2 separate regions of the Homo sapiens genome follow, and region 1 is linked to region 2. Evidence: promoter capture Hi-C in human tissues and cell types (Jung and others, 2019). All regions are on one chromosome and are shown on one strand. Each heading gives the region's core, a stretch centred on a gene start or on the middle of the fragment in contact. The rest is flanking DNA. Distances are from core to core; before and after follow the strand shown. Region 1 has its middle 10 kb from the start of ARPC2. Region 2 holds the start of CXCR1 (C-X-C motif chemokine receptor 1).

Evidence for each region. The method cuts DNA at HindIII sites, captures the fragments that hold promoters and counts their contacts. A contact is called where the count stands out against the background at its distance.
Region 1: a fragment that was not itself captured here is called in contact with the fragment with the promoter of CXCR1 in region 2 in 1 of the 25 tissues and cell types used here (IMR-90 fibroblasts).

Annotation. Positions count from the first base shown.
Region 1 is chr2:218,204,083-218,209,345 of GRCh38, forward strand. No RefSeq gene overlaps it. Among named protein-coding and RNA genes, the nearest start is that of ARPC2, 10 kb to the right of the region's middle. The HindIII fragment of the contact is 3,750 bases long and covers 1-3,351 here.
Region 2 is chr2:218,165,580-218,170,672 of GRCh38, forward strand. It overlaps CXCR1 (C-X-C motif chemokine receptor 1), which reads right to left and starts at 1,383. Exons shown (of 2, transcript NM_000634.3): 1 at 1,329-1,383. The HindIII fragment of the contact is 8,483 bases long and covers 1-5,093 here.

The DNA of each region.
Region 1 (5,263 bases), core at 227-2,726, 39 kb after region 2:
TAAACTCTCAATTCTATTTTATTGGTCTATATGTGTCTGTCTTTATACAAGTACCACACTTCAGCGTGGGCAATATAGTGAGACCTCAACTCTCCAGAAAAAAAAATATTTTTTTAATTAGCCAAATGTGGTAGTGTGCACCTGTAGTCCCAGCTACTTGGGAGGCTGAGATGGGAAAATCACTTGAGTCCAGGGCCCAGGGGTTGCAGTGAGCCAAGATTGTGCCACTGCACTCCAGCCTAGGTGACAGAGTTAGGCCCTGTCTCAAAAACACCTTCCTGGGAAGTTTGGAAATCAGGTACCTTCCTGGTAAGTTTGGAAATCAGGAAGTGTGAGTCTTTCAATTTTCTTTTTCTTTTTAAATATTGTTTTGGCTATTCAGAGGTCCCTGCAGTTCTCTGGGTATTGTTTTTTGTTTTTTGTTTTTTTTCTTTTTGAGACAGAGTCTCGCTCTGTTGCCCAAGCTAGAGCGCAGTGGCGTGATCTCGGCTCACTGCAGCCTCCGCCTCCCGGGTTCAAGCAATTCTCCTGCCTCAGCCTTCCAAGTAGCTGGGACTACAGGCATGCACCACCATGCCCAACTAATTTTTGTATTTTTAGTAAAGACAGGACTTCACCATGTTGGCCAGGATGGTCTTGATCTCCTGACCCCATGATCTGCCCACCTCAGTCTACCAAAGTGCTGGAATTACAGGCATGAGCCACTGTACCCAGCCTGTCCCTGCAGTTTTATAGGAACTTGAGGATAAGTTTCAATTTCTCCAAAAAAAAGACCATTGGAATTTTGATCGGGATTACATTGAATCTATAGATTGCTTTGGGGAATATTGCCATCTTAACAATATTAACACTCCCAACCCATGAACATGGGATGTCTTTCCATTCATTTAGGTCTTCCTTAGTTTCTTCCATCAATGTTTTTAGTTTTTGGTGTACAAGTCTTTCACCTCCTCAGTTAAATTTATTCCAAGGTAATTTATTCTCTCGGATGCTACTGTAAATTGAATTGTTTTCTTAATTTCCTTTTCAGATTGTTCACTGCTAGTGTAAAGAAACAGAGCTCATGTTTGTATGTTGGCCTTGCACCAACTTTGCTTAATTCCTTTACCAGCTATAGTAGGTTTTTGAGATTCTATGGGATTTTCTATACAGAGAGCCAAGTCATCTACAAATCGTGGTAGTTTTACTTCTTATTTTGCTATTTAGAGGCCTTTTATTTATTTTTCTTGCCAAATTGCTCTGTCTAGGACTTCCAGTATAATGTTGAATAGCACAGATGACAACAGACATCTTTGTCTTGCTTCTGATTCTAGAAACTAAGCTTTTAGTCTTTCACCATTGAGAATGATGTGTTGTGGGATTTTTTTCATAAATGCCCTTTATCATGTAAAGGAAGTTCCCTTTTATCTTAACCCATTCTGCTGCTATCACAAAATACCTTAGAGTGAGTAATTTACAAATAATAGAAATGTATTTCTGCCAGGCACAATGGCTCATGCCTGTAATACCAACAATTTGGGAGGCCAAAGTGGGAAGATTATTTGAGGCCAGGAGTTCAAGACCACCTCAGGTAACATAGCGAGGACTTATCTCTATTAGACATTTAAAAATTAGCTAGGCATGATGGCAGGCACCTACAGTCCCAGCTACTTGGGAAGCTGAAGTGGGAGGACTGCTCGAGCCAAGGAGTTTGAGGCAGCAGTGAGCCAGGATCTTGTCACTGCACTCCAGCCTGGGCAACAGAGCGAGACCCTGTCTCCTCACCACCAAAAAGAAGAAAGAAATTTGCTTCTCACAGTTCTGGAGGCTGGGAAGTCCAACACCAAAATGCCAGAAGATTTGGTGTTTGGTGAGGGCCTGTTCCATATATAGCATTTTCTTGAGGCATCCTCACAATAAGCAGGAAAAGGTAGAAGGGCAAAAGGAGACCAACACGGTGTCCTCACGTAGCAGAAGAGATTAAAGGGGAAAGGGGAGCCAGTTAGTTCTCTCAAGCCCTTTTATGAGGGCACTAATAACCTCCTTCAGGACCCACATCTTAATTCTATTGCATTGGGGTTGAGTTTCAACATATGAATTTTGGAGGGACACATACATTCAAATCATAGCACCTACTATTTCCAGTGTTCTGAGTTTTTATCATCAAAAGGTGCTGAATTTTATCAAATGCTTTTTCTGCATCTATTGAGATGACCATGTTTTTTCTTGTCATTTTATTATTGTGGCATATCACATTGATTGATTTCCTTGTGTTGAACCACTCTTGGTTTCTGGGATAAATTCCACTTAGACATGGTATGTGATTCTGTTTGTTTGTTTGTTTGTTTGTTTGTTTGTTTGAGACAGGGTCTCATTCTGGTTGTCCAGGCTGGAGCACAGTGGTGCAATCTCAGCTCACTGCAACCTCTGCCTCCAGGGTTCAAGTGATTCTCATGTGTCAGCCTCCATAGCTGGAATTACAGGCACATGCCATCACACCAGCTAATTTTTGTTTTTTTGTAGAGATAGCATTCCCCATGTTGGCCAGGCTGGTCTCAAACTCCTGACCTCTAGCGATCCTCCTGCCTCAACCTCCCAAAGTCATGGGATTACAGGCGCGAGCCACCACACCCAGCCAATTATTATAAAGTGCTATTGGATTTAGTTTGCTAGCATTTGGTTGGGGATTCCTGTGTCTATTCATAGAGATATTGGCCTGAATTTCGCTTCTCTCATGGCATCTTTGTCTGGATATCAGAGTAATACTGGCCTCATAGAATGTGTTAGAAAATGTTCGTTCCTCTTCCATTTTTTGGAAATGTTTGAGTAGAGTTGGTGTTAATTCTTCTTTAAATTGGCTAAAAATGTGTTGTTCAATTTCCCTGTCTTTGTGAATTTTCCAGTTTTTTTCTTCTGCTATTTATTTGTATCTTCATTCCACTGTGGTTGAAGAGGATACTTTGTATGATTTTGATTTTTTTAATGTATTGAGAATCATTTTCTGGCCTAGCATATGTTCTATCCTAGAAACTGCTCCATGTACACTTGAGAAGTATATTCTGCTGTTGTTATGTGGAGTGATCTGTGTTATCTGCAGTCTAGTTAGTTTATGATGTTCTTCAAGTCCTCTATTTCCTTGCCAATCTTCTGTCTAGGTGTTCACTCTATTATTGAAAGTAGGACATTGAAGTCTCCAACTATTATCGTAGAACTATTTTTCCCTTTAATTCTGTCCATATTTGCTTTATATATTTTGGACTCTGTTGTTTGATGTGTATATGTTTATAATTATTATATTTTCCTGATGAATTGATCCTATTATCAATATAAACACTTTTTGTCTCTTATAACAATTCTTGACTTAAAATATATTCTTTCTGATACTAGCATAGCCATTCCAGCTCTATTTTGGTTACAGTTTGCCTAGAATATCTTTTTTTTTTTTTTCAGAGACACAGTCTCACCCTGCCACCCAGACTGGAATGTAGTGGCACAAACATAGCTCACTGCAGCCATGGCTGCATAGTATTCCCGGACTAAAGCAATCCTTCCACCTCAACCTCTCCAGTAGCTGGAACCAGGTGTGCACCACCATTCTTGGCTAATTTTTTTTATTTTTAGTAGAGACAGGGTCTTGCCATGTTACCTAGGCTGATCTCAAACTCCTGGCTCAGGTGATCTTCCTGCCTTGGTCTTCCAAAGTGCTGGGACTGGCCAGGCATGGTGGCTCATGCCTGTAATACCAGCACTTTGGGAGGCTGAGGTGGGTGGATCACTTGAGGTTAGGAGCTCGAGACTAGCCTGGCCAACATGGTGAAACCCCATCTCTACTTAAAATACAAAAAAATTAGCTGGGGTGTGGTGGTACCCACCTGCAGTCCCAGCTACTCGGGAGGCTGGGGCAGGAGAATGACTCGAACCCCAGAGACAGAGGTTGCAGTGAGCCACTTCACTCCAGCCTGGGCAACAGAGCGAGACTCTGTCTCAAAAAAAACAAAAGACAAAGTGCTGAGATTACAGGTATGAGCCACTGTGCCCAGTCCCAGAATATATTTTTCTATTCTTTGATTTTCAACCTATTTGCATCTTTGGATCTTAAGTTAGTCTCTAGTAAAAGCATATAGTTGGATCATTTTTTAAAACTTCATTTTGCTGGCCAGGTGCAGTGGCTCACGCCTGTAATCCCAGCACTTTAGGAGGCCGAGGCGGGCAGATCACTTGAGGTTGTGGTGACTCACGCCTATAATCCCAGCACTTTAGGAGGCCAAGACGGGCAGATCACTTGAGGTCAGGAGTTTGAGACCAGCCTGGCCAACATGGTGAAACCCCATTTCTACTAAAAAAAAAAAAAAAAAAATAGCTGGACATGGTAGCATGTGCCTGTAGTCCGAGCTACACATGAGGCTGAGACAGGAGACTCGCTTGAACCCGGGAGGCGGAGGTTGCAGTGAGCCAAGATCGTACCACTGCACTTCAGCCTGGGCGACAGAGCAAGATTCTGTCTCAAAAAAAAAAAAAAATTTATTTTGCCAATCTCTGTCTTTTAATTGTTTAATCCATTTACATTTTAAATGATTATCGATAATAAAGAACTTACCTCTACTATCATGCTATTTATTTTCTTTTTCTTTTTTTTTTTTTACTTTTAATTTAGGTTCAGGGTACATGTGCGGGTAATAAGCATAATACTCAATAGGTAGTTTTTTTGATCCTCACCCTCCTCCCACCCTTCACCCTCAAGTAGGCCCCGGTGTCTCTTGTTCCCTTCTTTGTGTCCATATATACTCAATGTTTACCTCCCACTTACAAGTAAGAATATGTGGTATTTGGCTGTCTTTTTTTTTTTTTTTTTGAGATGGATTTTCCCTCTCTCACCCAGGCTGGAGTTCAGTGTCCCAATCTTGGCCCACTGCAACCTCCACCTCTCAGGTTCAAGTAATTCTCCTGTCTCAGCCTCAAGAGTAGCTGCGATTACAGGCACAAGACACCAGAGCTGGCTAATTTTTGTATTTTTCGTAGAGACGGGGTTTCATCATGTTGAACAGGCTAGTCTCGAACTCCTGACCTCAGGTGATCCACCCGCCTCAGCCTCCCAAAGTGCTGGAATTAGAGGTGTGAGCCACTATGCCTGGCTCCTTCAAGTTTTGAAAGAACATTTTACAGGCTATAATATTCCTGGTTGACAGGTTTTTTTATTTCACCACTTTAAAGATATCATCATTCCACTGCCTTCATGGTTTCTGATGAAAAATTAGCTGTTGTTCTTATGCAGGAGACTTGTAAA
Region 2 (5,093 bases), core at 133-2,632:
CATTTGGATGTGGGGACCAGGTTGGTCTTAGACATTCAGGGAAGGGCCAGCATTAAGCAAAATGCAAGAAGGCAAACCTGTTCCCAGGTGTCCCCTTCTACTATTTCTATTCCTATGTTCTCCCTGATTCTTGTTTACCCTCCTTAAAATCTACTGGGGGAAGGAAGTGATAACAACACATTGCATTAAACTGTATATTTTAAGCCTTCTTTAAATGAGGAGCACATATTTTGTTCCTCTGTCTAAAGGAGTTTTAAGTATTTGAGAAGATAAAGTCTCCATCTTGGTCCCTGAAACCCTCCACCCCTGAAAAAATCCACAGAATCATTCAAGAGTTTTCAAATATATTTCCTATTGTGAAATAGTTTACTGAAATAAGATCTTCCCAGAAGCCCAGTATGTGAAGCAGATAAAAGCTGAGCCACTGTGGGGCAGAGTGTGCTAATCTCCGAACCCAGATGGCCCCTAAAGAGCCCCTCAAAGCTCCAGGACTCTCCAGAGAAGTCTGAAAGCCTTTGGAAAGTCACCGAGGTTGGTTGTAAAGACACCTAGCATCCAGTCTTCATTCCATCCTGATTCTACCATTAATAAGTTTCGTGTGTAATCCCAGCCCTTTGGGAGGCCAAGGCAGGCAGATCATGAAGTCAGGAGTTCGAGACCAGCCTGACCAAAATGATGAAACCCCGTCTCTACTAAAAATACAAAAAAATTAGCTGGGTGTGGTGGCGTGCACCTGTAATCCCAACTACTCAGGAGGCTGAGGCAGGAGAATCACTTGAACCCGGGAAATGGAGGTTGCAGTGAGCCGAGATCGTGCCACAGTACTACAGCCTAGGCGACAGAGTGAGACTCCATCTCAAAATAAATAAATAAATAAATAAATAAGTCTCATGACCTTGAGTGGGGTCTCGTACCCCTATAGATTTCAGTCTTCTCATCTGCAAATCGAGGAAGACAGAATCATCCACCTCTCATTTGCTGCCAGGCCTGAGGGTGTATGATGAGTCCACTCAGATCCACACATTTTAGTGTGTTCCCTCCCTACCAGTATTTGCATTTTCACTGAAGACAAAGTCTTAAGGTGAAGCAATAAACATCAAATTGGGGAATGGTCAGCCTCTTCCCACAAAAGGGCAAGGTATAAAAAGAGGGGATGAGGAGGCTGTCCTCTTCACCTGCTAACTCCATGTATGAGTGGTGGTCACAAGAGAGGAAGCGGGCAGCAGAAATCCTCAGCTCCCACAGAAATGAATACATTTTCCAAAATAAAGTCAAGCCAAGCAGCCCTACCCCACAGAAAGTCCTAGCAAACAGAGGTGGCTTCCTACCTGAAGCACCGGCCAGGTGTGTCCAACAGTAGGAGCTGCAGTCAGAGATCAGAGTGACTTAACAGCTAGAGGGCACTTGATGAATAAACGGAAATAAGGAAACCACATCAGATGACACCTCCCTTCTGAGCCCCACCCATGTCTACATTTGGGGAAGAACAGTTTAAGTCAAGGGATCACAGACTTGTGATTAGAGACTGCCAGGGTCCATATGACCAAGTGGGGGTCCCAGGTGTGAAGCTGGGGTTGAGGGTCCATTATCTGAATTCTCCACTCTATGGATGATCATTTTTATTATTTTCCTTTTCTTGAATTTATTTCCATTTGTTTATTCCTAAATTCCCTAGTATATCACCTGTGGAAGCTTGCAACTTCCTGACCAAGTATAAAGGGCGAAGGATTTGACTTACAGCAGAGACTTCAGAAGGAGTCCCCCATAGGAGGGACTTGGGGGCAATCCAGTGGGAAAGAGGAGGAGGACTGCGCTTGAGTTGTGTTTGAACAGCAGGCACTCAATCTCTACTTATTTTGCAGGCTTCTTTGAGGTGGCCTAGCTCGGATTCAAGGCATTCTCATCAAGGATGTGAGAGCAGTTACTGGGATATCCTTGGCTTCCCTGTTGGTTTGCCAACGAGAGCTCCCCTTCCTCCTTTGCCTCCAACCTGGTCTTCTTTGGAGGTTGGCTTCCCAGTGTTCTCCACCTTCCACAACTCCAAGGCCTGGCCTCAATCTCTACTTATTTTTCAGGCTTTTTGAGGGTATTTGAATGGAACACAAACCCTCCTTTGCCGCCAGCCACTCTTTCGCACAATCACTGCCAATGACCAGTTGGTTTAAATGGCCCTGAGGCTGACGGCATAGGCCACTCCCAGAGTCTGGCTGGTTAGCAGAGAGACCACAGAGCTGGGGCAGTCCATGAATGGAAGAGCTGTGGTCAAGGTCACTGCAGCCCCCATCTCAGTAACGGAGAATGGCTTCTCTGGGAACCCACCTTAGCTGCCTCCAGCAGCTAATGGCTGTCCCCTAGCTTGAGTCTTCTGGCACCTTCGTCACTTCTCCATATAACATGAACCCTGCTGTGAGGCATTTACAAGTCAGCCCTCTTCTAGCTTGGGAGCCATGAGACAGCAAGAACCTTCTTCAATTCATGTTTATGTTCTCTTTCAGGGAATATAGTAGGTGCTCAATCAATGGTTGTGGAATAAATGAAGGGAGACATTTCTCCTGTGATTCATGGACCATAAGTCACCACCACGATTCAGTGTCTATTGCTTTTGGCTACACACTAAAGTCACTGGTATGCCTGATAGCTTCACTTCCACACAGCCCAGTTGGTCTGCCTGGCATTGCTTCTTTCCAACCTTCCTCTAATGTTTGGAGCTAATGCCAGTCTGTGCAAGTATAAATCCTGCCCTACCACAAATGCCAAATTTACCATGCCATGGATTCCTACAGTTCTGCACTGGAAAGAATTTTTTTCTTTTTTTAAGAGACAGGCTCTCACTGTGTTGCCAAGGCTAGAATGCAGTGGTGTGATCATAGCTCAGTGTAACCTCAAATGCCTGGGCTCAAGCAATCCTCCCACCTCAACCTCCTGAATAGCTGGGACTACAGGCAAGAGCCACTACATCTGGCTTTCTTTTTTTATATTATATTTTTATTTTTATTTTTTATTTAGTTATTTATTTATTTGTAGAGAAAGGGTCCTGATATACTGCCCAGGCTTATCTTGAACTCCTAGCCTCTAGTGATCCTCCTGCCTTTGCCTCCCAAAGCACTGGGATTACAGGCATAAGCCACCATGCCCAGCCGGCAAGCCTATTTTTTAAGCTAAGTTGTGCTTTCCTCCTGGGCTCTTTTATCATTCATAGATGGTAACAGGAAGTGTAAGGGGACAATAGCCACTCATGCTTTGCTTTTACTGATGTTGGACTATTGTGCTCTAACGCCTAGACTAGAAAGGAGTCAAAGATGGGGTAGTCCCAGGAGGTGGGAGACTCCCTCTATTAATCATCTAGGGAAAATCAGCCCCAAGGGCAGAAAATAGTCACTGGGGACACAGGAGAAAAAAGACGGGGGCCTAGACTGCAAAACACCTGCCTATACTCAAGAAAGACCCTGAGGCCGGGAGAAGGATAGTTTTTGCCACAAGGGGGCAGCAGTTGCTAGACAGGGAATCCCCTGTGAGACACCCCCTTGAGAAAGACCAGGGCCAAGAGCAGGTATATTTAACACCGTATGTTAAGTTCTTCTTGGTGTATAGTTCCCTTCTGCTTTTCCTAAACCCTCAGTAAGTCGGTTCACTATTCCAGTCTATTTCAAGGAATCACTGAGGGGTTAGGGAAGAGGCTGGTCTCCTGGAGCCCGAGGAGTGAAGGGGAGCAGCCCTGCTGCATGAGTGTGGTGAGGGCAACAGCAATGCTGGGGTCTCCAGGAGAAGTTGCATCTGGAGGACAAGGGTGGAAAGAACCTTTCACTTCGCAGTAGGACGAGCATTTCACTGAAGGAGGGAGAAAGCACATATAGATGAGTTTAGAATAAAATTTTACCCACTTCAAAATGTTCCAGCAAGTCAGCCCACCCAACCTATCTTCTATACCTCACTTCCCACTTATAACTGTGCCCTCTTAAAATGGCCTAGAATGTTCCTGCTGAGAAGCATTTTTCCATTCCATGTAGAGCTCCTAATGCCACAAAGAAAGCTGTGACAGGTGCAGCCCGAATGCCAGTCAACTGGCAAAATGTAGTATCTCTTTGGGTGACATCTTCTTACCACTCTGTTTTAAACATGATGACTTCTGCACAGACCATGTGAACAGCACAATGTGGCTGTAAGAACATCTATTTTGTCCCTGCATCAGCCTTATGCCAGCTTCAGCATCTCTTCTCATTCCTCCAGAAGAATCCACTTGGATCTGGGATCAAAGTAGAGGAAAGGGGTAGAGGGAGGTTTCTCCTCTCTCCCCAGTGACGTCCTCGTAACCACAGCAACAGGCTCAGGGAGTGAGTCTGTGACCCAAGATGATCCAGTCAGAGCAAAGTTCAGATGTTTGCTCAATGAATGTGGAAAAGCAAGTATATAGTCTTGTTGCAGTCAGCAGCCATTTTGCTACCATAAATGGCAAAAACAGTCCAAGGAAAAAACCAACACACAGAAGAAGGCAGAGTTGAGAGAATCAGAGAAACAGACCAAGAGTCCTGAACAAACCATGCCCAGAGGCCATCTTCTCTCTGTACTTTCTTCGGTTCCATGAGCCAATAAATTGTCTTTATTGTTAAGACCAGTTTAAGTTGACTTTTCTGTTACCAGCAACCAAAACATGCCCAACTGTGAGAGTTCTGGAAACCAAATGTGGTCTAGGATGAGAGGAGCAGGGAGTAGTGTCAGTGAGACACTGGGTCAAGGCTGCAGTGGTAAAGATACAGGGGCATTGACAGACACGTGACCTAGCCAGGTGCAGACCTCCCAGCCCTGATCTCCAGTCTCCAGAGGAAGCCAGAGAAGGACCTTGAAAAGTGAGCATATTTGTTTCCTGCAATCTCCGTTTTAAAACTAAAATTAAATTTAAAAATTATTTCCTGCAATCTCAATTTTTTTTAAAAAAATTAACAAATAAATAAATAGGCCAGGCATGGTGGCTTATGCCTGTAATCCCAACACTTTGAGAGGCCAATGTGGGAGGATTGCTTGAGTTCAGGAGTTCAAGACAAGCCTGGGCAACATAGCAAGACCTATCTCTCTAAAAATAAAAAGTAAAAGTAAAA